Regions from separate parts of the Homo sapiens genome. Here regions 2, 3 and 4 are each linked to region 1. The links are contacts of gene promoters, found by promoter capture Hi-C in blood cells and fetal thymus (Javierre and others, 2016). All regions are on one chromosome and are shown on one strand. Each heading gives the region's core, a stretch centred on a gene start or on the middle of the fragment in contact. The rest is flanking DNA. Distances are from core to core; before and after follow the strand shown. Region 1 holds the start of FIP1L1 (factor interacting with PAPOLA and CPSF1). Region 2 holds the start of SRD5A3 (steroid 5 alpha-reductase 3). Region 3 holds the start of LINC02480 (long intergenic non-protein coding RNA 2480). Region 4 overlaps DCUN1D4 (defective in cullin neddylation 1 domain containing 4).

The links. The method cuts DNA at HindIII sites, captures the fragments that hold promoters and counts their contacts. A CHiCAGO score of 5 or more calls a contact.
Region 2: the fragment with the promoter of SRD5A3 here is called in contact with the fragment with the promoter of FIP1L1 in region 1 in 1 of 17 cell types (total CD4 T cells); the score reaches 6.8 in total CD4 T cells.
Region 3: a fragment that was not itself captured here is called in contact with the fragment with the promoter of FIP1L1 in region 1 in 1 of 17 cell types (naive CD8 T cells); the score reaches 6.2 in naive CD8 T cells.
Region 4: a fragment that was not itself captured here is called in contact with the fragment with the promoter of FIP1L1 in region 1 in 1 of 17 cell types (total CD8 T cells); the score reaches 5.1 in total CD8 T cells.

Annotation. Positions count from the first base shown.
Region 1 is chr4:53,375,961-53,382,776 of GRCh38, reverse strand. FIP1L1 (factor interacting with PAPOLA and CPSF1) reads right to left here and starts at 5,136. Exons shown (of 18, transcript NM_030917.4): 1 at 4,854-5,136; 2 at 3,660-3,704; 3 at 3,513-3,552; 4 at 442-499. The coding sequence starts at 4,938. It overlaps LOC105377654 (a long non-coding RNA gene), which reads left to right and starts at 5,037. Exons shown (of 3, transcript XR_007058118.1): 1 at 5,037-5,118. RefSeq lists a silencer at 4,559-4,648 and enhancers at 4,321-4,869, 4,809-4,928, 4,979-5,068, 4,870-5,418. The HindIII fragment of the contact is 4,469 bases long and covers 3,803-6,816 here.
Region 2 is chr4:55,340,889-55,347,753 of GRCh38, reverse strand. It overlaps SRD5A3 (steroid 5 alpha-reductase 3), which reads right to left and starts at 1,512. Exons shown (of 5, transcript NM_024592.5): 1 at 1,197-1,512. The coding sequence starts at 1,417. RefSeq lists silencers at 930-1,199, 1,410-1,579 and an enhancer at 1,031-1,791. The HindIII fragment of the contact is 3,550 bases long and covers 1-2,556 here.
Region 3 is chr4:52,038,801-52,045,170 of GRCh38, reverse strand. LINC02480 (long intergenic non-protein coding RNA 2480) reads right to left here and starts at 366. Exons shown (of 3, transcript NR_147189.1): 1 at 136-366. The HindIII fragment of the contact is 2,140 bases long and covers 3,631-5,770 here.
Region 4 is chr4:51,857,023-51,863,650 of GRCh38, reverse strand. It overlaps DCUN1D4 (defective in cullin neddylation 1 domain containing 4), which reads right to left. Exons shown (of 11, transcript NM_001040402.3): 2 at 144-214. Among named protein-coding and RNA genes, the nearest start is that of DCUN1D4, 17 kb to the right of the region's middle. The HindIII fragment of the contact is 3,250 bases long and covers 1,336-4,585 here.

The DNA of each region.
Region 1 (6,816 bases), core at 3,887-6,386:
ATGCACAAATATTCATAGGACCAATGATATGTTCACCTCACAAAGTATCAATGGCATGCAGGCATGCAGTCAGGGACTGTCACATACATTAAAAAGCAACGTTAAAAAATCGTAACAGTGAAAGGTTGTGGGCTCAAAACTTGCTCTGAAAACCAGGCTCACTATATTCAGTAGATTTATAACCATTCAATTCCTTGAAAGCAATAAACATCAAGCCTTTGCACATACTATTTTCCTCTGCAGTCTTTCTACTATTTCTTTTCCTCATTTTAATTCCTATATATGTTTTTGATGGCACCAGATGAAGTAGGAGATGTAAGAAAGGGCCAGATAACACCTGATACTGAAGGTAATGTAAAATGCCAGCTTGCTTTCTATGTAAACTGTGAAGCTATTGATAAAGATTTGTATCAGTAACTGGATTTCAAAGCCTTATGTTACCGGTTTTGGTACACCATTTTCAGCAGTTTCATCTTCAATTCCAGATGGAGGATTAGCACTACAAACAACAAAAGTAAGTATACATGTCAGGCATTACTTTTCGGAAGTACAGATAGATTATATTAGTATTTCTAAGCTTTAATAAAGCTCCTAAAATTATTGTCTCCACTGGAGACAGTAATGGTAAAATCTGACTGTCTTATTCCGTTATTTCTAGTAACTTGCAGAAGACAAGTACTCAACATTGTAAGTAGAATGCAAATGCCAGGCTGGGCGTGGAGGCTCATGCCTGTAATCCCAGCACTTTGAGAGGCTGAGGTGGGTGGATCACGAGGTCAGGAATTCAAGACCAGCCTGGCCAAGATGGTAAAACCCCGTCTCTACTAAAAATACAAAAAAAAAAAAATTAGCCAGGCATGGTGGCGGGCACCTGTAATCCCAGCTACTCGGAAGGCTGAAGCAGACAATTGCTTGAACCCAGGAGATAGAGGTTGCAGTGAGGCTGCAGTGATCATGCCACTGCACTCTAGCCTGGGCGACAGCGTGAGATGCTGTCTCAAAAAAAAAAAAAAAAAAAAAAAAGAATGCAAATGCCTTCACAGTTTATTAATGATTTATAATTTGATGGTGGGCTATAATTCAAGCTTTTTACACATTTTAAAAATATATGACAAACTTAATCAATTTTAATTATCCTAAATCAATTTGATCTTTACAGTGGCATTTTATAGCACAATCACCAAATAAAGCAAAATGAAAGATAAAAAGTCAAAACATAACTGTTATATTTTCATTGTTCTACTGCTTGCTTCAAGAAAACAAATATGCAGCTATAATTGTTCAGTACATTTACCTCCTGCTGAAATAAGCTTCTAGGTAGCCAGAAGCAAGTCCCATTTGCTTTCTACGTCACAAAACAGTATCCCTTCTTTAGTCAAAACTTGGATAGATATAACACAATTGGAGACTGCAATGCAATGTTTAAGAAAAACAGAGGCTTCAGCAATGAGCCAGTCAGTAGGAAACGGGCAAATTCTAATAGCAGGAACTTTGGTAGAGCAATGCAATGATGTACCAAGCCAGATAGCAGTAGGTCTGGCAGAGTACCTTTCTTCAATAGGCCTACTCTTTTGGAAGTTTTAATTTTCTATCACCATTAAAATGTTAGAAACATGATAAAATTTTAAGCTTTTTCTAGAAAAATAACACTGTAAAGGAAATTGTTTTTTCCCCCATAGGATGAAATCAACTCAACGGCTCCCCAAATGAAGTTGCAGAAAGGAATATAAAGCTATGTTGACAGTGACACTCAGGGAAGGTAGAAGGTTCCCTCCAATAAATTTTAGCAAGTTGTGTATTGCGGAATTAAAATTAAAGAATGTTTGATTAGAAAGTAAGCTTTTAAAATTGTAACCAATAAAAATAAAAATTAATGGGATAAAGATTATCATATAGAAAAGTATATTTGATTGTAAAACTATACCTGTAATTAATTTCTTGACCAACTGAAGGAATGGGTACAAAGAAATATTCAATCACTTTCATAACATAAACTAAAACTAATCTCAACTTTGTGGTTGAGATCAGAATTAGGAACTGAGTTGAATATATAAATTTTAAAATGAAATAACATTTCAGATAATATACCAATGAGTGAAAAGACTATAGGGGATTTTTTGGGTAAGGAAGCTGAACTGTAGTTTCAGCTCCTCCTAAGCTATTTCTACTTCCATTTCTCACTTTTTCCCTCTATCCATTTTTTGTTGTAACAGCTTTGAGATGCAATTCACATATTATACAATCTACCCATTCAAACAGGACAACTGAGTTTTAATATGGTCACATAGTCCAACCATCACAACTATCTAATTCCAGAATGTATGCATCACTCCCAAAAGGAACTTTGTATACATTAGCAATCACTCACCCAACTCTTAGTAACCACTAATCTGTCTCTACGGACTGACATCTTTAGCTTCCACATTTGTAAGGTTCATCCGTGTTGTAACATCTACCAGTACTTCATTTTATTGTCCTTGCCAAATAATATTCCGCTGTATGGATATAACACATTTAATCTATCCATTCATCAGTTGATGCAGCTGCGAGGTTTTCTTTTTCCACTTTCTATTAAGAATAATGCTGCTATGAATATTCACGTACAAGTTTTTGTCTGAATATGTTTTCATTCCTCTAAGGTGGAGGACTCACATGGTAACTCCATGTTTCACCATTTGAGAAAATGGCCAGGCTGTTCTTCAAAGCAGCTGCACCATTTTACAATCCCACCAGAAGTGTATGAGGGTTTTATTTCCCCATATCCTCACTAACACCTGTTTTATCTTTTCGATTGCAGCTTACTCGGTATGAAGTTGTATATCTTCCACTTTTTAAACCCAAATATTCCTTAAAATCTTCTAACTACCTCTCCCTCCATTACAGACACTAATGCATGTGGTCAGGGTAAAGCCGACATCTCCATGTACTTCTTTACATGGCTTGCTTTTTGAAATCTGGGGTAAAATTCTGACTCCCTGTATATGTTCTATAAATGAACACTTACATCTTTCTTACAATCTAACAAAGAAATCAACCTTATAACAAATCAGCTAATTACATTTTGAATGCAAACAATACATAGCATTGAAATTACAACCAAACTGCCATTATATCATCAAAAATGTTAATAAACTGGAAAAGCAGTAGTTTGGAGTGTTCCTGATTTACTTAAAAACATTTTCAATTAAGTTAAAATATTTTTATCAGTAGCTTAACGATTATACTGTATACTTCACTACTGAATTCACTTAAGAGTAACAAGTTACTTAACAGTGTAAAATCAGTCCAATCCTAAGTTCAAAAACTTTGTCCTTTAAACTACCAACAAATAGAATTGGCGTAAGATTAGGTCCTGAAACTGGAATAATCCTTAAAGGATTCAATGTCCTCCAAAATGTTGTAAGTCAGTGTTGTAATGAAGCCAATGATTGTAAGAAAATAATTTTGACAACTGACAGAACCATTGTTTCACACAACCTGTGTAATAGGCATCAACAGAAAATTTCACTAACCTGGCATTTTCTTCTTCTGGCCTTTCAACTTCATTTTCATCTACCAAGTAAAATAAACAAATAAATAAATAAGCAAACAAAATAAAGAAACCACTCTTAAAGAAACTAGTATTATGAAAATCTGAAGTGATCATCACAAGCACTAACCTAGGTCCTTTGCCAAATCACTGTGCACATGCACGTCCCATGGGCCTATAAGCACATCCAAAGTTAGATCACCTTATAATTACTTAACAAGATACTTATTTTATGGAAAAAAAAATCAGACTTTACTGCTATAAAAATAAGCTTAAATTTAAGAGGTAATGAAGATTTCCAGATCTTTGTAAAAGAAATCCTACACATTCACATTTCAAAGAGTAGTAACTAATGCTAAATCTTGCCACCAAACGATTTTTTTTTACAAGTTTATCAAAGTCACATCATCAAGGACCTGCATGGTGCCCAAAGTGCACTTTTACTATTCTATTCTAAAGACAATCAAGAATATATGTTTTAGGCAAGGAACAAACATTAACTTTCAAATCTGGTGTTAACAAGCAAGAAGGGATTGTGACTTAAAGTTAAAAACCAGATGTCAAACAAGTACCCTTCTAGAGAGAAGTACATGATGCATTAAATTTATTTTGAGAAAAACAAATACATGAGATGACACTGAAAACTATAAGCCGAAGGGTCATGAGATACCTCCATGATGTAGGTTAAACGGTAGTCTCTTAAAAAAGAATAACTTCACCTTAATACAGGAGACATTCAGAGTTTTCTTTATGGGCCATCTTTCTCTCTCTCTCTCTTAATTAATTATTTTTAAAGCACGACTTTCAGACAAGGAGGTACCCTTGCAGGTGCATTCCATACAAACTGACCATCAAGAAACAAGACGTTAGTTGTACAGCATTAACTTTATTTAGCTATTATTACAGAATGACTGTTTCTGAAAGAAGGGACAGGAAGGGCACCCTAAGGCCACAGGGCAAAAACAGACACCAAAAACCACCACCTCAGAATCGACAGAAAAAAACAAGGGTAAAGAGCGCAGCAGCTAGGCGATCGAGACGCCTCGGGGAAAGCACAGCGAAGCCGGGGGCCAGGACCGGTCACAGCCCCCCAGCCCGGCCCGGCCGCCACAGGGGTGGATGCGCATGGTGGGCGTGGGCCAGGCGGGAGACCGCCGCGGGGACTGGGGGCACGCGCACGCCGCGCTCGGCCTAAGTCAGGCCGGACAGGACTCCCAACCAGAGGCCCGAAGCGGCGGCGCGAGAGGCCAGGGACGCCGGCCGTTTGAGGGCCAAGAGGGGAGGCCTGAGAGAACCCGAGAGACAGAGACAGGAAGTTTCGTACCGCCATAGAGCCACTCTTCCTCCTCATCCCCTCCGGTCCCGCCGCTCAGCTCCGACACTAGGCGCTCGACCTCGCCGGCCGACATGGCCGCCCCGAGCGCAACTTAAACGCGGCGATCAACAGCCCCCTCCAACCCCTTCCCCAGCCTCGCAGCCCCGAGGCGCGAGAAGGGCGCGAACCCGCCGACGAACGAACGAAGAAAGCTCGAGACTCCAATCCCAGGAAGGCGACGGCAGCGGCGGCAAAGATGAAGCCTCCAGCGCAGGTCCGTCTGCGCATGCGCAGGAGACCCAAGCGGCGCGGCGCGTATAGGTGGCTTCGCTTCCGCGGCGGCCACCTGGGCCTGGTTGCGCCTGCGCGCTGAGGTGGGCCCCGCCCCTCTAGGATCCCGGTTTGCTATTTTGCGTGGCTTCCTCCCGTGGCGTCCTGAGTCGGCCAGGGTTCCCCGCCCCCACCCTTCTTTTTAATAACCCGTATTGCCATTGCTGGCGAGTACACCATTGTTCCCTTCTACTCTTCGTGCTCTTTCTTCTCAACTTTTTATTTGTTTTTTAATCTTCAGAAAGGCCTTCTTTTATTCTTTAATCAGCCTTGATACAGAATCATTACCTGTCACTCCCTTTCCTCACTGAATAGAGAAGAAATCACAATCAGTACTATTTCTCAAAAAATTAATTTTCACAGCCAACAAAAGCAAAACTAATAGATGAAGAATGCACTCTCCTTGTTAAAAACCATAAATTACTGTCAAGGTCAAAGACCGCCTCATTCCCCTACCCTTCTCTCCGGAGGTAGCCCTTGCTACAGATGCATATCCTGTTTGGAGTTCATCATTCCGAAATTTCCTATACACTTACTTCATGTGTTGTGCTGTTTTGGTGGGAGAACCTGAGATTGACAAGTCTTAAATAGTACAGTACAGTATAGTATCATCCTTCGACTTCCTTTTTTTTCTTTTTTTTTAGCATCCGTGTCTTGGAGCTCTTTTTCATTTTAGTATGAATCAAACTATATCTATTTTAAGTGCTTCATAAAATTGCATAGTATGGCTATCACAGAGTGAATATGGCTATTTCTCCATTGATGTACACCCAGATTGCTTTTGACTTTACACTTTTAACTACAACAAAAAATGACAATGAAGATCCACACGGCTCCTTGCAGATTTGTCTGTTTCTCAAAGATAGATCATAAAGTATGTACAGTTTTTATTTTAATAGGTAAACCAAATGTTCAGGCCGCTTCTGAAAGCACATCTTCCAGTGAAAAGATGACATACCATGGTTCAAACTGGAGCTCTAGGTTTGTCTAGGTTTTTTGTTTGTTTGTTTATTTATTTGAGGCGGAGTCTCACTCTGTTGCCCAGCTGGAGTACAGTGGTGCGATCTCTGCTCACTGCAACCTCCACCTCCTGGGCTCAAGCGATTCTTCTGCCTCAGCCTCCCAAGTAGCTGGGATTACAGGCACGCACCACCATGCCCAGCCAATTTTTGTATTTATAGTAGAGAGGGGGTTTCACCATTTTGGCCAGGCTGGTTTTGAACTCCTGACCTCAGGTGATCTGCCCACCTTGGTGTCCCAAAGTGCTGGGCTTACAGGCATGAGCCACCACGCCCGGCCTGTTTTTTTGTTTTGTTTTGTTTTGTTTTGTTTTGTTTTGTTTTGTTTAAAAAACAGTCTTACTCTGTAACCCAGGCTGAAATGCAGTGGCAGGGTCACTGTTCACTGCAGTCTCTACCTCCCAGACTCAAACAGTCCTCCCACTTCAGCCTCCTGAGTACCTGGGACTACAGACAAGCAGGTGCCACCACACCTGGCTAATTTTTTATTTTTTGTAGAGACAATGTCTCACCATGTTGCCTAGGCTGGTCTGGAACTCGTGGTCTCTAGCAATCCTTCCACCTAGGCCTCCTAAAGTGCTGGGATTACATGTATGAGCCACCAGGCCTGGCCTCAGTTCTTC
Region 2 (6,865 bases), core at 263-2,762, 2.0 Mb before region 1:
GATTATCCAAGTTTTAGAAGCCAAATTATACTTGTCCCTTTGTTGCCTGCGGACCTGGGGCACTGCCTATGAGTGTTTCAAGCGACAACCCAGATGTTTTTAACCTTTAAAAAAAAATTTTTTTTAAATACAAGGTATTTCTCTGTTGCCCAGGCTAGAGTGCAGTGCCATGATTATAGCCCACTGCAGTCTCCAATGCCTGATCTCAGATGATCTTCCTGCCTTCATTCCAAGTAGCTGGCACTACAGGCACACGCCACCAAGCCCTGCCAATTTTTTGTATTTTCAGGAGAGACGGAGTCTCACTATATTTCCCAGCCTGGTCTCGAACTCCTGAACTCAAGCGATCCGCCTGCCTCAGCCTCCTAAAGTGCTGGGATTACAGGCGTGAGCCACTGCGCCCGGCCTAAGATGCATCTTAAGGGGCACTGTTCTATTTCTACCATCTCGAATAGTATTTGGCCAACTCTTTCCAGCTATGTCCTGAATTTAAAGTGGAAAAAGGAGAAGAAGAAAATTATAACAGGTCTCTATTTAAAACCTGACGATTTAATCCTTCGCTGAACTGGGTTACAGAATTTTTCGAAAGTCAAATGGAGCTTCGGGACGGGCCTGCCTATGACCTGCACCTTGGGCCACCTTCCCCAGGGGCACCTGCCAAGGTGCAGGTTAGGGCGACTCAGTCCTTTGTCCCCACTGCAAGGGTTGGGAAGAGAAACGGGGGAAGCCGAGGCCGAAGAGCCGGCCTAACTTCATTTCCACAAATGATTCCCGGTGACCTCAAGTTAGAGTATGAGCCACTGGAGTGCAGGGTACGGGAAAAAGGAGAATTTGGGGCAAGGGGCACTTCAATTTGCCGCCTAAATTCGCATGACCAGGCCTAAATTCGGATGCGTTGCCATTTCCCACAGGGAAAGGCTCCGTGCGGCTACCAGTTCACATTCCTCCAGCTGAGTGCAAGCGGCTCCGCTCTCCCTCGGCGTCCGCGGACACCCGGGCACTGCTCCCCGGAGCCACGCAGCAGCCGGGGCATGGCCGGGGCCAGGCCGAGGGAGCGCCGTGCTGCGCCCGGGAACCCGCCAGGGCCTCCCAGGCCGGGTCCCGCCTCTGCTGCCCCCTGCTGGCTGCCCGCGAGCCGGGGCGCCCCGAACTCTCAGCGCCTTGACCACCGCGGCTCGGGACCGGGGCGCGGTTACCTCTTGGGGACATCAAAGGCTCGGCAGGCGGCGGGGCGCGACGGCTCCCCACACTTGGTTTTCCCATAGCGGATCAGGTCCTGGAAGATCGCGCAGCCCGGGAGCAGGCCGGGCGGCAGGAGCTGCAGCAGTAGGGTCAGCAGGAAGGCGGCGGTCAGCGTGAGCCACACCGCGCGCAGCGGGTTCAGCGCCGAGTGCTCGGCCTCCGCCCAGGGAGCCATGGCCCGCGTGCCCGCCTTCCGCGCTGCTGGCGCCCCCACCGCCCGCTAGCCCGCGGAAGAGCGGCCACTAGCGCGCGGCGCACCGGTCTCAGCCTAGCGGGACGTCGGTGACGCGGCGCGGGGCGGGGACGCGCAGAGCCCCTCCCGGACTCGCCGCTCAGCCGCGGAGGTCCTTGGTCCTGGTCGCGCTGGCGCTGGGTGGTCGCTCGCAGTCCCTAATCTGGGCATGGGGATTCTTAGATGGAGCTCCAGAATATGATTCATCAGAAGCAAAGACGCAAAACAGACGAGACCACGTGTCTGCCACTCTTATCAACATTATCTCCAAAGCAAAAAATGGAAACCTTACATGTTGCATTTTAGTTTATTTAGCTAAATTATGATACACTGACATGTTAGAATATCATGCAGTCATTGAGAATTATTATGACGAGTGTAGAAACAGGGAAAGCTGTTTAGGAAACAATATGTGAAGTGAAAAACAAAACCAACCATAAAAATACATAGCTATGATTGCAAACAACTATATTAATATGAATGTGTGTATATATGGATAAAGAAGGCAGATCACACCCAAAAATGAATAATTATGTTAGGATGCTGGAAATGTGTTGGATATGTGTATAATGTAAACATGTAGACAAGTAATTGCACATAATAATAAAAATCATAGTGGTAAAAACTGTGTTTAAAAAACAGCAGTCGCTTACCAATAGGGTTCCAATCCTTAGAAGCAAAGTTTTTAAATTCCATCAGCTGTTTCCTGTAACATTTATCTCAGGTAGTGACAATGCTATTTATTGACTCACTGATTTTAAACAACACTGATTTTATTTACTATAAGTGAAAATCTAGCTCTTTTAAGTATTTAAAAGTCTTTAAAATGTTAATTCTGAAGTATTGTATGCCTACTGTATGACAGGCATCATTTTGGATACTGAGGACAGAGGGGTTTACAAGATAATTGTCACTGCTTATTTGGAGCTTACATTTTTGAGATTGGGTGGTGGGTGAGAAGTGGAAGAGGGGAGAGGTAGCCAACTCATCACCCTTACCCCAATGAGATACCCGATATGTGTGTTGAATAAACATCAGGGTGGGTAGGTTAGTGGGACTTTGGACTGTTAAATGAGCAAGCTTTTAAAGTTTTCTTCTTTGTGCAAAAGACACCTAAGGCTTTACCCGTCCTTTGACAGCCAGGTGATTAAGGATGGTTAAATTGGCATTCTAGCTAGGACAATGAGGCCTTATTGAGTGATCCTGGATCTCTTTTGCGGGAGTCACCCTTTCACTGTTTCTTTCTTTTCTTTTTTTTTTTTTTGAGATGGAGTCTCGCTTTGTCGCCCAGGCTGGAGTGCAGTGGCCTGATCTCTGCTCACTGCAAGCTCTGCCTCCCAGGTTCACACCATTCTCCTACCTCAGCCTCCCGAATAGCTGGGACTACAGGTGCCCCCCCAACCACGCCTGGCTTTTTTTTTTTTTTTTTTTTTGTATTTTTAGTGGAGATGGGGTTTCACTGTGTTAGCCAGGATGGTCTTGATCTCCTGACCTCGTGATCCATCTGCCTCGGCCTCCCAAAGTGCTGGGATTACAAGCATGAGCCAATGCTCCTGGCACCCCTTCACTGTTTCTTTATTTTTCTTAGGTTAACTCTCTGTAAATGCAGCTGGTCTGTCCATGATCTTTTTCTTTTCAGAGAAGCTACTTGTAAGTGCATTGCAGGGACTCAGTTTCCTGGGTAGGAGTTTCTCTTACAGTTGTCTGACCTGGGGCAAGATTGAAAACAAGATAAGTGTGTGTGTATGTGTGAGTGTGTGTGTAGTGGAAACAGGAAGGGTTGAGGAGGCTGGAGGGGAAAATCATCCCATATATTTTTTAGATTTTTTTTTTTGAGACCGAGTTTCACTCTTGTTGCCCGGGCTGGAGTGCAATGGCACGATCTTGGCTCACCGTGACCTCTGCCTCCTGGGTTCAAGCTATTCTGCCTCAGCCTCCCGAGTAGCTGGGATTACAGGCATGTGACACCACACCAGGCTAATTTTGTATTATTAGTAGAGACGGGGTTTCTCCATGTTGGTCAGGCTGGTCTCAAACTCCCGACCTCAGGTGATCCGCTTGCCTCGGCCTCCCAAAGTGCTGAGATTACAGGCGTGAGCCACCCTGCCTGGCTATTTTTTAGATTTTAATCAGCATGCACAGTTTATATTCAGAGAAGCCCCCTGTAGATGGCAGTGGCTGAACAGAAAGCCGTAAGTTAAACCCTCCTGGGAGTATTTGTAAATGTAAATCCTTACTGGAGTGAGTTAGTTCAAAAGTGGAATACCAGGCTAACATCTGTTAGAAAGATCATTGCTAATAAATATCAGTGAGCATTTTTGTCTTTCTTCATTTAATTAACTGCACTATATGTTCAACAAACTACTGGTATTGCCTGCAGTAAACGGCAAAGCCATTTTTCCAGTTGCTCAGGCCAAAAACCCTAAACTCAACCTTGATTCCTGTCTTTCTCTCATAGCCTAAATGCAATCTGTCAGCAAATCCTGTTGGCTCTACCTTCAAAATATGAATCTAAATTCAATTATCCTTAGAGTCAGTGCTTTAAGTCCCTAGCCATCTCAATAAATCAGAAAAAGAAATAAAACATATAAGGACTGCTAAGTAAGAAATAACGCTGTCATTATTTGATGATTATATGAAACTCCAATAATAGAAACTCCAATGGCATCCACAGATAAGGTATCAGAACTAGTAGGCAGTTTGGGGAGGTTGCTGGAGATAAAAATCTGTTCATAAATATTATTTCTATTTCCCAGCAACAAACAGGAAATTGTACATTTTTATTTCTCATCAACGAACAAAAATTTGTATGTTTCAAAGGTACAATTCACAATGGCATAAAATATATGTCTAGGAATAAATCTAATAAGGATATGTAAGATGTTAGAAATACCAAAACTGTTAGAAATAGATAATCGGTGCCATGAAGAAAAGTCAGCACAGAGACAAAAGATCTCTCAGCAAGGCCATCTTTACTTTCTGCAGAAAGGGTGCTCATTCGCAGATGGAACAATGTCGAGAGCAAACTTGAACAAAGGAAAATGAGACATATTTATCCCTTACGCATTTGGGTTGTCCTTATTGCTGTGTCCTGCATCCATTGGCTGTATTGGGACCTCACCATCTTTTTTTTTTTTTTTTTTTTTTTTTTTTTTTTTTTTTTTGGGACGGAGTTTCACTCTTTTTGCCCAGGCTGGAGTGCAGTGGCACGATCTCGGCTCACCACAACCTCCACCTCCCAGGTTCAAGCAATTCTCCTGCCTCAGCCACCCTAGTAGCTGGGATGACAGGCATGTGCCACCACGTCCAGCTAATTGTGTATTTTTAGTAGAGATGGGGTTCCTCCATGTTGATCAGGCTAGAACCTCACAATCTTAAACTGATACCTGATTTGCTAATAACCTGAAACTTTCCTAAATAGGTAAGTGCAGGGGAGAACAAATAAGTTGCTTATGAAAGGTTTAAGGAAGAAATAACATTTCCAAATAAGGAAGGGGCATAGGCTATGAGCTGGAACCTGCCTGTGAGCATGTCCAACAGTTACATAGGATAGGGCTTAACGGAGAGTTATTAGCAAAAAGCAAGGAGGCTGGAAGAAAGTCTTTAAAAAAAACTATTATGTCTAACACTTATGACTTATTCTTTAACAAGAAGGAAAACTTTGAAGAGGAAATTTTTACTTTCTACAATCCCTCCTCTTTTAGTTTTCCTCTTCAAACTTGCTTAACATGTCTTGGCTTAGTTGTTTTGATTAACTCCTGGACGTATGGTACAACATAATACCTAAGAAGAAGGAGTATACTTATTATAGTTGTTAAAGAGGTAAGAATTCAGGCTATGGATTTTTTCTTTTTCTGTTGATGAAATGCCAAGGTAAAAGGGATAGCCAATTGAACTAGAGCATAAGTACCACTCTAATTATTTGGCAGAGTGTCCAGTAAAGGTCCTCCATAATACCACCATACGTCCGCTCGGGGATGAATAAGGGCAGACTGATGGGTCAGCTCTTGGAAGTGCCTGACTTCACTGCATCCTGTTAAGTCTCCAAGGAATGCCAAAATTTTCCTCTTGTCATTAGAGACTAGAGGTAAAATTGGTTTTGGAAGATGGAGGCTGGATGGCACTCGGGGGCTGACCCACAGGGTGTTGAGCTTCAGGAAATAGCAGAGAAAGAGCTTGGTACAATTTGTTATTCCAGGCAGTGGAATCTTGAAAAAGAGGTACCATGCACTCTATGTCCGCTTGATTTGAGGACCATCCCAGTGGAAAGGGAACAACCTGGGCCTTTGGCCTACTGTACGCAAAAGCCTAACAGTCGCTTTTGTTTGAAGTGCGAACGGAATATTTAATCCATTTTAACCAGGCATTTACATCTTTATACCCTGTTTCAATGGCTGTGGTTTACCTTAGGTCTCCTAGTTCTACTACTGAGACCTTGCTTTTGTCATTTGGCATGAGGCGAGGCATAGTTTGATTTCGTAGGTTTAGGAAAGGGGCAGTTGTAGGAGGTGGAGGAGGGAGAACAAAGCGCATCTTAAAGAAGCCTATGGATCCTTTCCAGTGACCTCTGCTCCTAGACCACAGAAACGCTTTAAAGTGGGGTTAGAGTTGCTAGTGGTAGGAATAGTAATGGATATAGGCACTGGGTTAGGAAAGGAAAAGAGAGATAGACTAAGCTTTTCTTAGCTTTTATTTGGTAGGGCTTGATCCAGGAACAGTGGCCCATGATTCTTATGATAATGGCGCTTGCTTGACTCGGGTGTGCTGTGTCCATCCCCGTTCTGCTGTAGGAACAGCAGTCTTGGTGGGTAGCAGCACAAGGCAGGGTCCTTCCCAGGCTGGCTTGAGTTTCCCTTCTTTCTACCCTTTGATGGGAACGTGATCCCCAGGGTGGTGCTGGTGTACTGGAAACTCCAAGGGCGGCGCCTGTGCTAAAAGACCTTTTGTTTTAAGGGAAGAGAAGGTGGAAGAGAAACCAAGTATATAATTTCCAAGAAATTGATTTTTTGTTTTAAATGTGGGGATATCAGCAGTGGATTTTACAGTCCTTAGTGTCTTCTTGCTGAGAAATTTCCGTTAGCACCTATTTTTATTAGTTTTTAGGCCAAAGAAAGCCAAACACCATTTTATATTTGACAATGCTTCCTGCATGATTTTATACCAGATAAGCTGAATTTTACCTTTATATTAGTGTGTTATTAATGTTAAACTTAATTTTAATAAAACTTTATGGACATATTTATCCAATTTTAATGTCTGACCATAAGGTAAGATTTTTATAGACTCTTTTTAACCTTTTAAATTGTTGTTAAAGAGCAGGTTAGTGCTTTAAGAAAAACCTGTTGTGCTTTTATTTTAATGTCCAGTTCACAGAAAAACTGGATGATACCC
Region 3 (6,370 bases), core at 3,451-5,950, 1.3 Mb after region 1:
CCTTTTTTAGTAAAATTTATTCTGCCAGCTTGCTAGAATAACTACTATTTCTAACCTCCAGTCAAGGAAGTTCTCTATAGTTGCACTTTTAACAAATTTAAACCCAGCTTAAACTGATAAACTTTTCCTAATTACCTCAACCCCTCAGAGCTCATCACTTTCTTCTTTATGCTTTCTCTCTTTAACTTTTGGACATGTTAATATTCTTGCAATTATCATGCTATATTATATTTATTTGCTTCCTATCTAAGCTTTTGAGCTTCATGAGGAAAAGGAGAGAGGCTTATTTAGCTTCATATCCTCAGCACAGCAACTGGCACATAAGAAAGAAGAAACAAGTTGGGAGCCAGGAGGAGGAAGAGAGGAAGGAAAAGGAAACAGATTGGAAAGGAAAGGATGTGATTGGCTGCTTTGTATCTGATGTCATAATCCACTGAGATAGAAGGCAATTTTAACAGCCAATTCGTGGTTCTTACGGTGTCATAATTCTACTACCTAGCCAGGAGTGATTTGTTCTAGAAAGGATAATGTGTCAAGTACGTAGATGGAATAGGGTTTTTGTTTGTTTTTGAGACGGGGTTTCACTCTCGTCACCCAGGCTGGGGTGCAATGGCATCATCTTGGCTCACCTCAACCTCCATCTCTCGAGTTCAAGCAATTCTTCTGCCTCAGCCTCCCGAGTAGCTGAGATTACAGGCATGCACCACTACGCCCGGCTAATTTTATATTTTTAGTAGAAACGGGCTTTCTCCATGTTGGTCAGGCTGCTTTCAAACTCATGACCTCAGGTGATACGCCCACCTCGTCCTCCCAAAGTGCTGGGATTACAGGCGTGAGCCACCATGCCCGGCCTTGGAATAGATTTTAATTTTGTCTACCCTGGATTTTTACCTACATCAGTCAGCTTGAAAGATTTTTAATTGGGCATTTTAAGAAGCCAACAAAAGATGAGCTGAATCCACTGCCTGAAGTGAGAGCTGAAGTGAGAGCTATGTATATTTAGTTCACACTACACCAAACATAAATATATGCAATAAATTACAGGGGATTATATTACGCAGTAGGATTTTCATCTTAATTTCAAGTCTTCTTCACTAAGGACAGTTGCTAACCCTTAGCCAGGGGCTGATAAGAACAACCTGTGTTTGGCTTGGATGCTCTTTTAAGCACTCCTCATCCTTTCCTGGCTGAGCCACGGTATTCTTCTCCTTCTGCTGTCTGTGTTTGGATCTTGTGTCTTTGGATCAGGGCCTGTATTACTATTTGAAGAAAATCTTTTAGTCTTTGCTGACCCACTTGCATAAAGTTGCCTTTAAATGCAATGTTTATCCAAGGTATTGCTTAGGCCCTTTGTGCTCAGAGGCACTTTGTTCTTGTAGGTAGCAAAACACTTCTTTGTCCACTTAAGTGTTTTCTAACCTGAGTGTTCTGTATTCTCCTTTCAGGAGTTCTGTTTTGTCCTTTTCTCTGCCACATTAAGGGAAAGGAAAATATTTTCTAAAAAACACCCATTGGAGAACAAATGAATTTATTGGGAACTGAGTGGGAGGCAGGTTCCCCCACTGACAGAAGGAAGAATGCTGTTTGCTGTGTCATACCAAGGAGCACTACCCACACAGAGCAGCAGTTCAGAATTTTTTTGTACAATTATTTCATGTGCACTATTGATTAAACTATAAAAACAAGAGGAAATTTTAAATATATCACAAGTGTATCACCTTAGCCCCTAAATAAACTATAGAACATTTGCAACAAATACAGATTAGAAGGAGAAAAAACCCAAGGTAGATGTAGTGTGATTTTGGAGAGCTGCAAAATATTTTTCCTATCGCAACCCAGGTTTCCATCATAGGTTTTTCAGAAAAGAAGGCGTCCTCACCCTCCATCTTTTCAGCTCTGCTAGCTAAATGCAATGGCAAGGTCATGGTTCTGTGAAAATCCCCCGAGGAGGAGTAAGCTCAGGACATATCAAGCTATTGCAGAGACACAGTGGATATGGTCTACCTTGCAAGATGTCCTTAAGCACATCAGGAGAGGGATATGGGATAGCACGAGATAGTCCCTAGGATGAGTGATGTTGAAATAGATCCTTTTCAGCACTTTTAATAAACATTTACTGGATTTCTAGTGTGACACAACCATCTGCCTTAAGCATGGACAGAATTAAGCTCAGTCTCTGTTCCCTAGAATCTCATAATCTATTCAAGAAAGAGAAAAGCAACCATACTTCAATGTTGTCAGTTAGAGTAGATAAACGTTCTGCGGAAACAATGACTCCTCCTTTGCCTCCTTTCCCATCTTCTGAAAAAGGATCAGGGAAAGTCATAGAAAGGTAATGTTTAGAGCCTGTTTTGGAAGGATGGAGAGACGTTCACCAGGAAGAGAAGAGCAACTTGAAACAGGAAGAATCATAGCAAAGAGGCATGAAATTGAATGGAGGGGCAGAAAATGACAAATAGTAGTCCAATGTGACTACAGAGTAGTCAGGGAATCAGAGACAAGACTGCAAAGATAGTCCTGGTTTCAACTATGATGGGTCTTATGTATCAGGCTAAAGGAATTGATCTTTATTTCATAGGCAGTGGGGAGGCAGCAAAGGGCTGTAAATAGAAAAACTGTATGATTGGGTCTCTTTTATATCACATTGGAGGTCACAGAGGTTAAGTATGGAAGGGGCAGAACTGGACCCTTGAAAGAGCACTTAGAAGACACAGAGATGAGGGTTAGTCTAGTGGCCTTCTCTGGGGTATGGTATGGTGAGCATTAGATACCGATGTCAGAGATACTTAGATGCTAGTAATATTTTTTACCCAATAGAAAAAATTAATTTAATATTCATCAGAGCTATTAAGTATGTATTATATACTTGGTTCTTAATGTGTTCAGGACTTAGAGCAACATGGAAAATAATAACACATTACCTCTGCTTTGTAAGGAACTCAGTCTAATCAGAAGCAAACTGTATATGCATGAAAAGTAAAGTAACAAGATACTGCACTAAGTATCAAATGGGTGTTACAGCAAATTAGTGCAATAATAGTTAAAAGGAAAGAGGAATAAGGACTGGCTGTGATTGTCAGGAGGAGGTAGGACTGAGGTTGGTTCTGAAAAATGGGAAGAATCTGGAGAGGCATGAATTCACAGATAACTAAAACAGATGGACAAATAAATAAATTTCAGTATAGTGTGATGTGACAATAGCAGCATGCTTGGGGATCACAGAGAGGTCCACACAAATCAGAAATGTATGATTGGGAGAAGGTTTAAGAAAGGCTTTTCAGAAAAGATATCCCTTGATCTGAGTTTTAGTGGACAAGTAGAGACAGCTAGATTAAAAGGAGAAAGAGCCACATATGCAAAGGAACAGAGCCATTAAGAACTTGAGTTCGGGCAAGCAGATGGGGGCTGCAAATATTGCACAGGGATAAAGGGATAGATTACTTTGTCTCTGATTCCCTGACTCCTCTGTAGTCACGTTGGATGTGTGTGTGGGACAGGCAGGAAACAAGGCTAGAAAGGGGCAGAAGGACCAAAAGTTTCTAACCTTTTGGTGAAGGACCAAAATTTGGTGAAGGACCAAATATAAGGAGCTTAAATTTTATCATGAAAGGTATTGGAGTATGGTAAGCTTGAGGGTGAGGAGTGACATGATCAGATTTGTATTTTAGAAAGATCATTCCAGAAATAGTATAGAACTACTTTGAGGTGTCTGACTAGATGGTGATATCATTCACTAAGGGAACACAGGAGGACCAGATTGGGAAGAAAGGTTTTGAGTTCAAATTTTTCATGTGTTGAACTTGAAGTGTGTATTTGTAACACACAAACTTGGTGGCTTTAAACAACAGAAATTTGTTGTCTTACAGTTCCAGAGGTTAGAAGTAAGAAATCAGAGCCTTCTGGAGGCTCTAAGCGTATATCTGCTCCATCCCTCTTTCTTAGCTTCTGGTAGCGGTTGGCAATTATTGGTATTCCTTGCCTAGTAGAGTGATCACTCCAATCTCTGCTTCTATGTTCATATCATCTTAGTGTATGTTGCCATTCTGTCCTCTTATAAGGATAAGGGCTCATCCTAAATTCAGAGTGATCTCAAGATCCTTAAAAACATCTGTCTTAGTTCATTTGGGCTGCTATAACAGAATATGGACTAGGTGGCTTATAAACAACAGAGCTTTATTTCTCACAGTTTTGGAGGTTGGGACATCCAAGATCAACATGCTTAGAGATTTAGTGTCTGGTGAAGGCCTGTTTCCTGATTCATAGATGTCACTGTGTCCTCACATGGTGGAAGAAACAAACCAATTCTCTTGGATCTATTTTATAAAGGCACTAATCCTATTCATGAGAACTAATCATGAATAGTGATAGCTAATCACCCATCATTTCCTTCTATGATGTGAATGTGTCCCCAAAAATTCATGTTCGGAAATTTAATCTCCAATGCAACAGCATTGGGTGGTGTTGCCTTTTGAGAGCTGTTCAGGTCATAGGGGCTTGGCATTCCTCCCCTCAGGATGACAAGGTGTTCAAGGTAACATCCTGGAAACAGAGACCAGACCCTCATCAGACAACTGAACCTGCTTGGACTTCTCAGCCTCCAGAACTGTGGGAAAATAATTTTTTGTGCTTTATAAATTCTTCACTCTCAGATGGTCTGTTATAGAAGCACAAAGTGGACTAAGTCAGCTTCTAAAGGCCCTACCTCCTAATATCATCACACTGGGGGCTAAGATTTCCACATGTGAAATATTCAGGGGAGACACAAACATTCATTCTATAGCAATCTGCAAAGACTCTGTTTCAAAGTAACACCACGTTCACAGATACTGGAGGTTAGGACTTGGATATGCCTTTTTGCAGGGCACTATTCAAACCACTGCAAAGTGAACAAAGGTGTAAGTGTCTTCATAATCTGACTCATACTCCAGCCCTGGGGACCTGTGTTTTGTGCTTCCAAATGCTAATATCATGCAACAGTCAAAAGAAAGAGCAAAATTAAAGGCTGTGATGTATGGTAGAAAGAGCAAAGACTAGTCAGATGGACCTAGATTCAATACTGGCTCTTTAGGAGTTGAAAAGATGGTCAGCCATTTAACCTCTACAAGCCTTGATTTCTTCATTTGTAAAAGAGGCATTGCCAGGCACAGAGTTGACTTTAAATGTCATTATTTCAGGGGAAAAAAGGCTGACAATAGTACATTTGAAAATAACCCACATTAAAATGTGGTCATGTGAGTGAATTGGATCTCTTTAAAAGAGAATAGAAATTGGCATTAAGAATAGTGGGATGTCCTGTCAGAGATGGACATCAGCGATGAGGAAAGAATCCAAGAGAAGGTGATATTCAAATAGCCAAAGGAGCATTTGGTTTCAGGAAAATTGGCTACCAGGTATCTCACCACCTAAGTGGGAGGGAGGTTGGCAAAATCAAGTCAGGGCTTAGAAATTGGGATACTGGGCAGATTTCTAAGATATCTATTAAGTTTAATTACTGTGCTAGACATTGGAGATTAAACGATGAGTAAGACACCTACCTTCCAGATAGAACACACCATCTTTTGAATGAAATCAGCAGGTAGACAAGATAAAAATACAATGCAATCTGAAGTGCTAGAAAAGGCTAGGCACACAGTTAAGGAACAGATCTGTGGGAGCCTCTGAAGCCTTTAGAGAAAATATGACGTTTGAATAGAATAGTTCTTGAAGGATGAATAAGAGTGCGCGTGCCAGGGAAGAAGAACTTTCCCAGCAGAGAGAAAAACGCAAAGCTTAGGAATTAAGGACTAGAAGATAGGAACTCAGAATCAGTTAAAAGCCCAGTTGTGCAAATTGATCAATGAGACCACAGGCAGAATATTAACACAGAGCCTTACTGCTGACTCCTGCATCATTGGGCTTTAACTTAGAATTTTCCTGCCTAAAATGCATGTTTGTCCCACAGACTCAGAGAGGAGTGAGTCTAGAGATATGAGTCAAGTGGTTCCAGCATTTAGGAAAAAAGAAATGCAGAGAGACTGATGACCAGCTAGGTACTGACTCCCACTGAATTAGACAGTACTAGGGCCCAAAGGTGCTTATTAGAAGTGATTCAGCTACATGAGGAACAGTTGCTATTGACTTCACTGCATTTTTTTTCAGCTAAAATAATTATTGGATTATATCTACAACAGGGAACAATGAATGTCTACTCAAGTAACTCGTACATTTGAGTGGCTTCCCGGTGTTCAGTAAATGTCCGTTCAATTAGGTTCCCGAGGATATACATGGTAACACTATCTCCAACACTAAATGAAAAATCCATCCCCAGTATCGCAGGATAAAAACATCAGACTTCATAGGCCTCCGAAGTCAAGCAGCCCGAAGGATTCAA
Region 4 (6,628 bases), core at 1,711-4,210, 1.5 Mb after region 1:
TATTACGAAGAAATCACATACCGTTAGCATTTTCATAAACAACTGATATCCTAATATCTAGAATCTAAATTTTTATCAAATACACTTATACAAAATGACTACTTCAAACAGTTGGTAATTTTGTCTTTAAAAGAATGACTTACCAGCTTATTAAGGGTGTGGTAGATCTTATGAATATTTGCCAGTGTTGAGAGATGAGAGTTCAGCTGAAAATCTTGAAAAGAAAAAGGAAAAATGTCAGCGTCATTTATTTCCAATATTGTAAAAAAACAAACTCAGAAAATAAACAAATGTTTTGATATAATTAAATACTATCTCAATTAATTTGACACTAAAGTTTTTTAAAAACATGCAATTAGTGACCTCCTAGAAATAGTCTGACAATAAAGTTAAATTCCCAACCAAATGTTAAAGTTCATGAAATTTTCATGTGAATTCTAAGGTAAAACAAAAAGTACTTCAGTAGTTATAAAATCCTGCCAGCAGTGAACTTGAACTTAATAGAAAGATAAGTCTCAAATGAAATGTTCACTTTCCCCTCTCTTCCCTAGAATTACTGGTACAATTAAGTAAGCTCATGGCAAGAAAATGATAGAAAAGCATCCCAACATTAGTATTTATTTTTTCTTTTCCTTTTTTTGAGACAGGATCTCACTACGTTGCCCAGGCTGAAGTGCAGTGGTGCAATCATGGTTCACTGCAGCCTCAGACTCCCAGGCTCAAGTGATCTGCCTGAGCCTGCATGGTAGCTGGGACTACTAGTGTGCACCATCATGCACAGCTAATTTTTCTTTTTTTTTTTCTTGTAGAGACAGGGTCTTTCTATGTTTCCCAGGCTGGTCTTGAACTCCTGGGTTCAAGTGATCCTCCTGCCTCAGCCTCCCAAAATGTTGGGATTAAAGGTGTGGGCCACTACGCGCAGCCTCAACTTGAAGTAAAGTATGTTTGCATATATATTAGGCAATAAAAATGTAAGCTGAAAGTTTATTAATAATTTCATATATAAGTACCACTGGAAGTATTTTCACAAAATATCAGGATTTACATTAGTTCCTTCTTTCCTATTAAAGGTTAGTATGAAAATGACCATGAAAAGATATTGTAACTCTCCAAGTTATACCATTCTGACAAAAAGAAAGAAAGAAAAAAAGCTCCCTTTACTGAAACATTTTATTTAGGACACGTATCAGATCCAAAGAACAGATCCAAAGAGCAGGTGCTACAATATCAGGTGTCTGTGCTTGGGCTGGATCCTCTGTGCTGCTACTCTGAACCCTGAAAACAAGCTGGCCTCCCTGTTCACAGTTAGAAAGCTTTACTTTCTCTTCTAAAGCTTGTTGGGCATCCAGTTCTGAGTAGGTCTGCAGGGCAGAGGGGCTGGCAGAAGCAGAGCCCCTCACATTCACATGCAGTGTCAGGAACAGCAGGTCATACCTGTATACATACATGTGCATATGCACTGTTCACAGTCATAGCCATATAGAATGGTCCCCAAAACCAGCATTTTGTGCTGAGAGACAGCCAGAGCAGGGCCTCAAGCTCTAAATGGCCCTCCAATATAGACATGCTTGAATTGCTTAGCATCTGAATAGCCCAGCCATGCTTAAGGTAAATGATGACATAAAGTGGCTGAGAATCTGGATTTTTCATCTAAATACGACTGCACAGAGGTTTAGAAAAGTATGTGTATTATACACCTATTTATTTACATTTATATTTATTAAACGTGAACAGGGGTAGAAGCTAGAAGCTACAGCCCTCTCACCAGCAAGAGGCCTCTCAGGACCAGCAAGAGGTGCTGAGGAGCTTGAACATTCAACTCTTGCACCTCCACCCCATCCACTACCAAGCCATAGCCCCCTTTTTGTACTCTCTCAGATTAAATATAGGAAGACAAATGATACATTCCATTATCACCTTAAAATATGAAGTTAAACTCTTGGGCCCCCAAAAAAACAAAAAGCAAAAACTGAGAAAACTTTAGCCTCTTGATTCTCTTTTCACTGAGGGTAAGGGAGGGGAGAGAAAAAGGGGCTTGCCAAAAGCCATTCCAGCAATGAGGTCTCTTCTAACTCTCCAGGCTATGCTTTTGTCATTTCACCACCCTGCTGTTAATTAAACTCCCAAAATTCCCATAAGAGAATCTAAATAAACCAAAACTGTTATATCTTTCTCCCTCCTTTATATAAATGTGGAAGAAGTAGAAAAGACAAGAAACACAAGTTATCCTCAATCTGGAATTCCAGGACTTCGGTGAGCTGGGCCCAACTCATACTCCAAACATCTTTCACCACCCCACTCCACAAAACCCTTCCTTCCAACCCCACATTCTGCCCACTGCCCTTCCTACACCCAAGAGAATTCAAATGTGTGCACACACTTGCACACACACACAAAACCACTCTATTCCTGTCAAAAATCCACTTTGCTTCACAACCTGACTCTGGAGTCTAACAGCTGGTTCAAATCTCAGGTCTACCAATTTTCTCATCTGTAAAGTGAGGATAAAAAATTCTCCTTCATAATGTTGTTGTATGGTTGAAAATATTTATCAGACACCTATTACAATGTCTAGGTATGTCAGGTACCCATTACAATACCTGGAAGATAGTAAGTGCTCAATAAAAGACATCAATTCCGACTATATTTACTTACACCATTCTCCATACCACACAGCTGTCTAAAATAGTCTCTAACTTTTCCTAGGTTCAATTCTCGCCTTACATCAATGATCCCAAGGTCAGAGCTTCCTCTGTAATTGAGGCAGGTGGCCTGGTACATCTTTTAGCCTATGATGGTGATATAGTTTGGATATGTCCCCACCTAAGTCTTATGTTGAACTGTAATTCTCAGTGCCAGAGGTGGGGCCTGGTGAGAGGTGTTTGGATCATGGGGGCGGATCCCTCATGGCTTAGTGCTGTCTTTGAGACAGTGAGTGAGTTCTTATGGGGTTCAGTCATTTAAAAGTGTGTGGCACCTCCTCTCACCCTTTCTCTCTCTCGCTCCTGCTTTCGCCATGTGGTGTGCCTGCTCTCCATTCACCTTCCTCCACGATTGTAAGACTCTCTAGAAGCCAAGCAGATGCCAGCACCATACTTCCTGTAAAGCCTGCAGAACCGTGAGTCAATTAAACCTCTTTTCTTTTATAAATTACCCAGTCTCAGGTATTTCTTTATAGTAATGCAAGAATGGCACTGCGACTCATATACCAGCAACTGATGTTCATAATGTTGACTGCAGATAATCACAACACACAGGAACAAAAATACAGATATTATGTTTAAAATCAGGTTCCACGTATGAAGTTTTACTTTACTAAAGGCAACAAGAGTAAACAGGTTCATTTCACAAATACATAATATATGTCACCAATTATCCATTTCTATATCCAATCCCTATTGCTACCACATCATCATCACTTCAACTAAAAAAAGAAAAAAGAAAAAGGAAGAAATGAAACCAGTAACATGGATAATTTTTCTTTCGTCTCATCAACATAAGGAGAAGTTAAGACACAAATTCAGGAGAAAAAAAAGACAAAAATGTCATTAAAAGATAGATTCACAAAGGTTAACACACATTGGATTTACAGTTCATCTGTTCAATGCTCATGGCAAGTAATAGCCCTTGAAATCTACAGTAGATTTCACCTCCTTAAGGCCTAGATGTTAAGGGTAAAGATCAAATGCTTTACCGAGAACGTATTCTGGAAAGCACTGATTGATAAAAATCTCCTTCTGCTCGTATTTCAATTCCAAAGGATAAATGCTGGGTTTTGACTGCATTCCATGATCAGACGGCTCTCCAAAGTAAAGCAGTGCTGAGTCTGACTCTCCTGTGTGACATGGCAACTCTATAGTCTGTATTAAAACCAGCAATCAGCTCTACAAAGGCACAGCCTGCTTGATAAATAGCTTGCCTAGATTATCTTCTGGATTTTCTTAAAACTACCAACAACTGCTGATTGGGCATAAACTTGTCTGGGTTTTTTTTTTTTTTTTTTTTTTTTTTTGCTTGTTTTAACTACCATTTGCTGTGACCTACACAAAAGAAAAAAAAATGAATGCCATTGAGGGGGTCAAAGTCCATTCCCCCAAACTACTCTAGGTAAGAAAACTACACAATACAGGGGGAGACATAAACATTAATAAAACAATTATTGGTAAGTTCAGACAATGACTCTCAATCAAAAGAAACAAAAATTAACAGTCCTAATAGTTTACTCTCATAAGAGGGTTAGAAACAGAATTTAAATACATAAAAAGCAAAAACTTCCCTTTATACCATAGTCACTTGCAAAATATAACTGGGACAAGAACGCAATTATAATGGCAACAAAAAGCAACAATACATATAGGAATAAACTCCAATATGTATGATTTTATTGTTCAGAATGAACAATTAAAGTTTACTGAAAGATATACACGTAAAGAGATATTTCTGGAATAGAAAGACCCAACGTTGTAAAGCAATCACTTCTCCCTTCACTAAACCACAAATTAATGCAATCAAAATTCCTATTCTGCTGGCTCCCCAGTTCTCCACCCCAAAAAGAGGTGGGGAAAAGAAGGAAGTCAGGCAAGCTTGGCAGATTGATTCTAAAGTTCATCTGGAGAAATAAACATGTTAGGCCTGCCAAGAAATTGTTGAAAAAGAATGAGGATGAACTTGCCCTATCAGATATCAATACACAGTATAAAGCAGAGCCTGGTAAACTCTGTATGAAGGGCCAGATTGTAAATATTTCTGGATTTCTGGCCCATACAGTCTCTGTTGCAACTACACTGCCATAGTAGCTCAAAAGCAGCCATAAACAATACGTAAGTATGGCTGCTTTCCAATAAAGCTTTATTTATAAAAACCAGGTGGTAGGGCTGGATTTGCCCCATGGGCCATTGTTTGCCAAGACCTGGTATAAAGGTACAGTAATTAAAATGTTATACTATGTGTGCAAGAAGAAAAATCAATGACAGAGAGCTGATAAACATATACGTATAAATACACATACACAACATATAATTAAATGGCATTTCAAACTCAATGGAGAAGACATAATAATTCAGTAAACAGAGGGGCAACTGGTCAGCATGTAGAACAAATTAAAATTAATTCCACCTCACCCAATAGTTACAGATGGAAGGGGAAGCTGTTCAAAGCAAAAGAAAACTTATCATGGGCTCAGGGCCTTGTACACCCTGCATCTGCTAATCTCTCCAATCTCATCTTCTACTCATCTTCCCCTTGTTCATTCTACTCAGCCACAGTGAGCTTCCTACTGCTCCATTAACACTCCAAGAACACTCCCACCTCAGCGCCTTTGCACGTGCTGTTCTCCTTACCTTGAGCGCTCTTCCCCCTAATAATAACATGGTTGCTCTCATACTTCATCAGGTTTCCATTTTAATATCACCTTTGATGGATATGTTAATTAGTCTGATTTGATCACTCCACAATTATGCATGTATCAAAACATCACATTGTACTCCGTAAATATATACAATTATTTGTCAATTAAGGATAAAATTCTTAAAAATCACCTCCTTACATAACCTTGCCAGACCAACAGAGCCCCATCTTCACTCTATCATCTTACCATGCTTTGCTTTTCTTCACAGCATTAATACCATCTGACATTATATTATATATTTGTCATCATCCTCTCCCATTAGAATGTAAGCTCCACAAGGGCCAAGACTTAAATCTTGCCCATTGCTGTATCCCGTAATATTAATACCTAGAAGAGTACCTGGCACATATTAGGTGCTCAATAAATATTCAACAAATGAATAAACGCAGATACAAAGGCACCAAAGGCTTAAATTCAATACATTCAGGGCACTTCAAGTGATCTTCAAATGTGAGAAGTGTCATGGTAAGAGGAGACTGAACAGGAAGGCAAAGATCAGAAAATGAAGAACTTGTGAATCCTGCTTGAGCGTTTAGATTTAATCTCCTAAGGATCTGTACCTCAAACACAGGCACCAGAGACCATGCAAACGTAATGACAGGAATGGCACATTCCAGCAGCATCAATTCTAATCAGCAATAATATGACAGTCTTACATGAAAACAAACATAATCCCCACATCAAGCTGTGCTCCCAGGACCCTGAAACAACTTATTCCACCAAACTCTGTACAGGAAAACATTGGTGGGAAGTCTGAGAAGCACTCCTTTGAGAGTCTTGGTGCCATGGAGGTGTTCTGATCAGGAGAGTTATTTAAAAAGATCACTCTAGGACAAGTGTGCAGCAAAGATGATGGGTGATCTGAATTTAGAGTGGCCATTTATGGAGATGACTAGAAGTGACTGAGGTGGGAAAGCATTAGGGCCGTAAGTTAGACACTGGCTGTAAAAATGGAGAGGAGAGATTCTGAGTACACTGGAGTTGCAGAAAATAGATATTTAGCTTACACAAATTCAACTCTTCTCATTTGGTCAAAAAAAATAAAAAAGGAAGAAGCGAGATGAAAAGAAATTTCAGTTGTCTCACTAACTGCCCACCCTCCCTTCTACTTAATGAGCACGAGACATGACACATGAATAGTCACTCTGTTGGTCTCAGTTTCCACATGCCAATCAGATTTTGTGCATCTCACAATACGGTATGAGTCGAGTATTTAAAGTG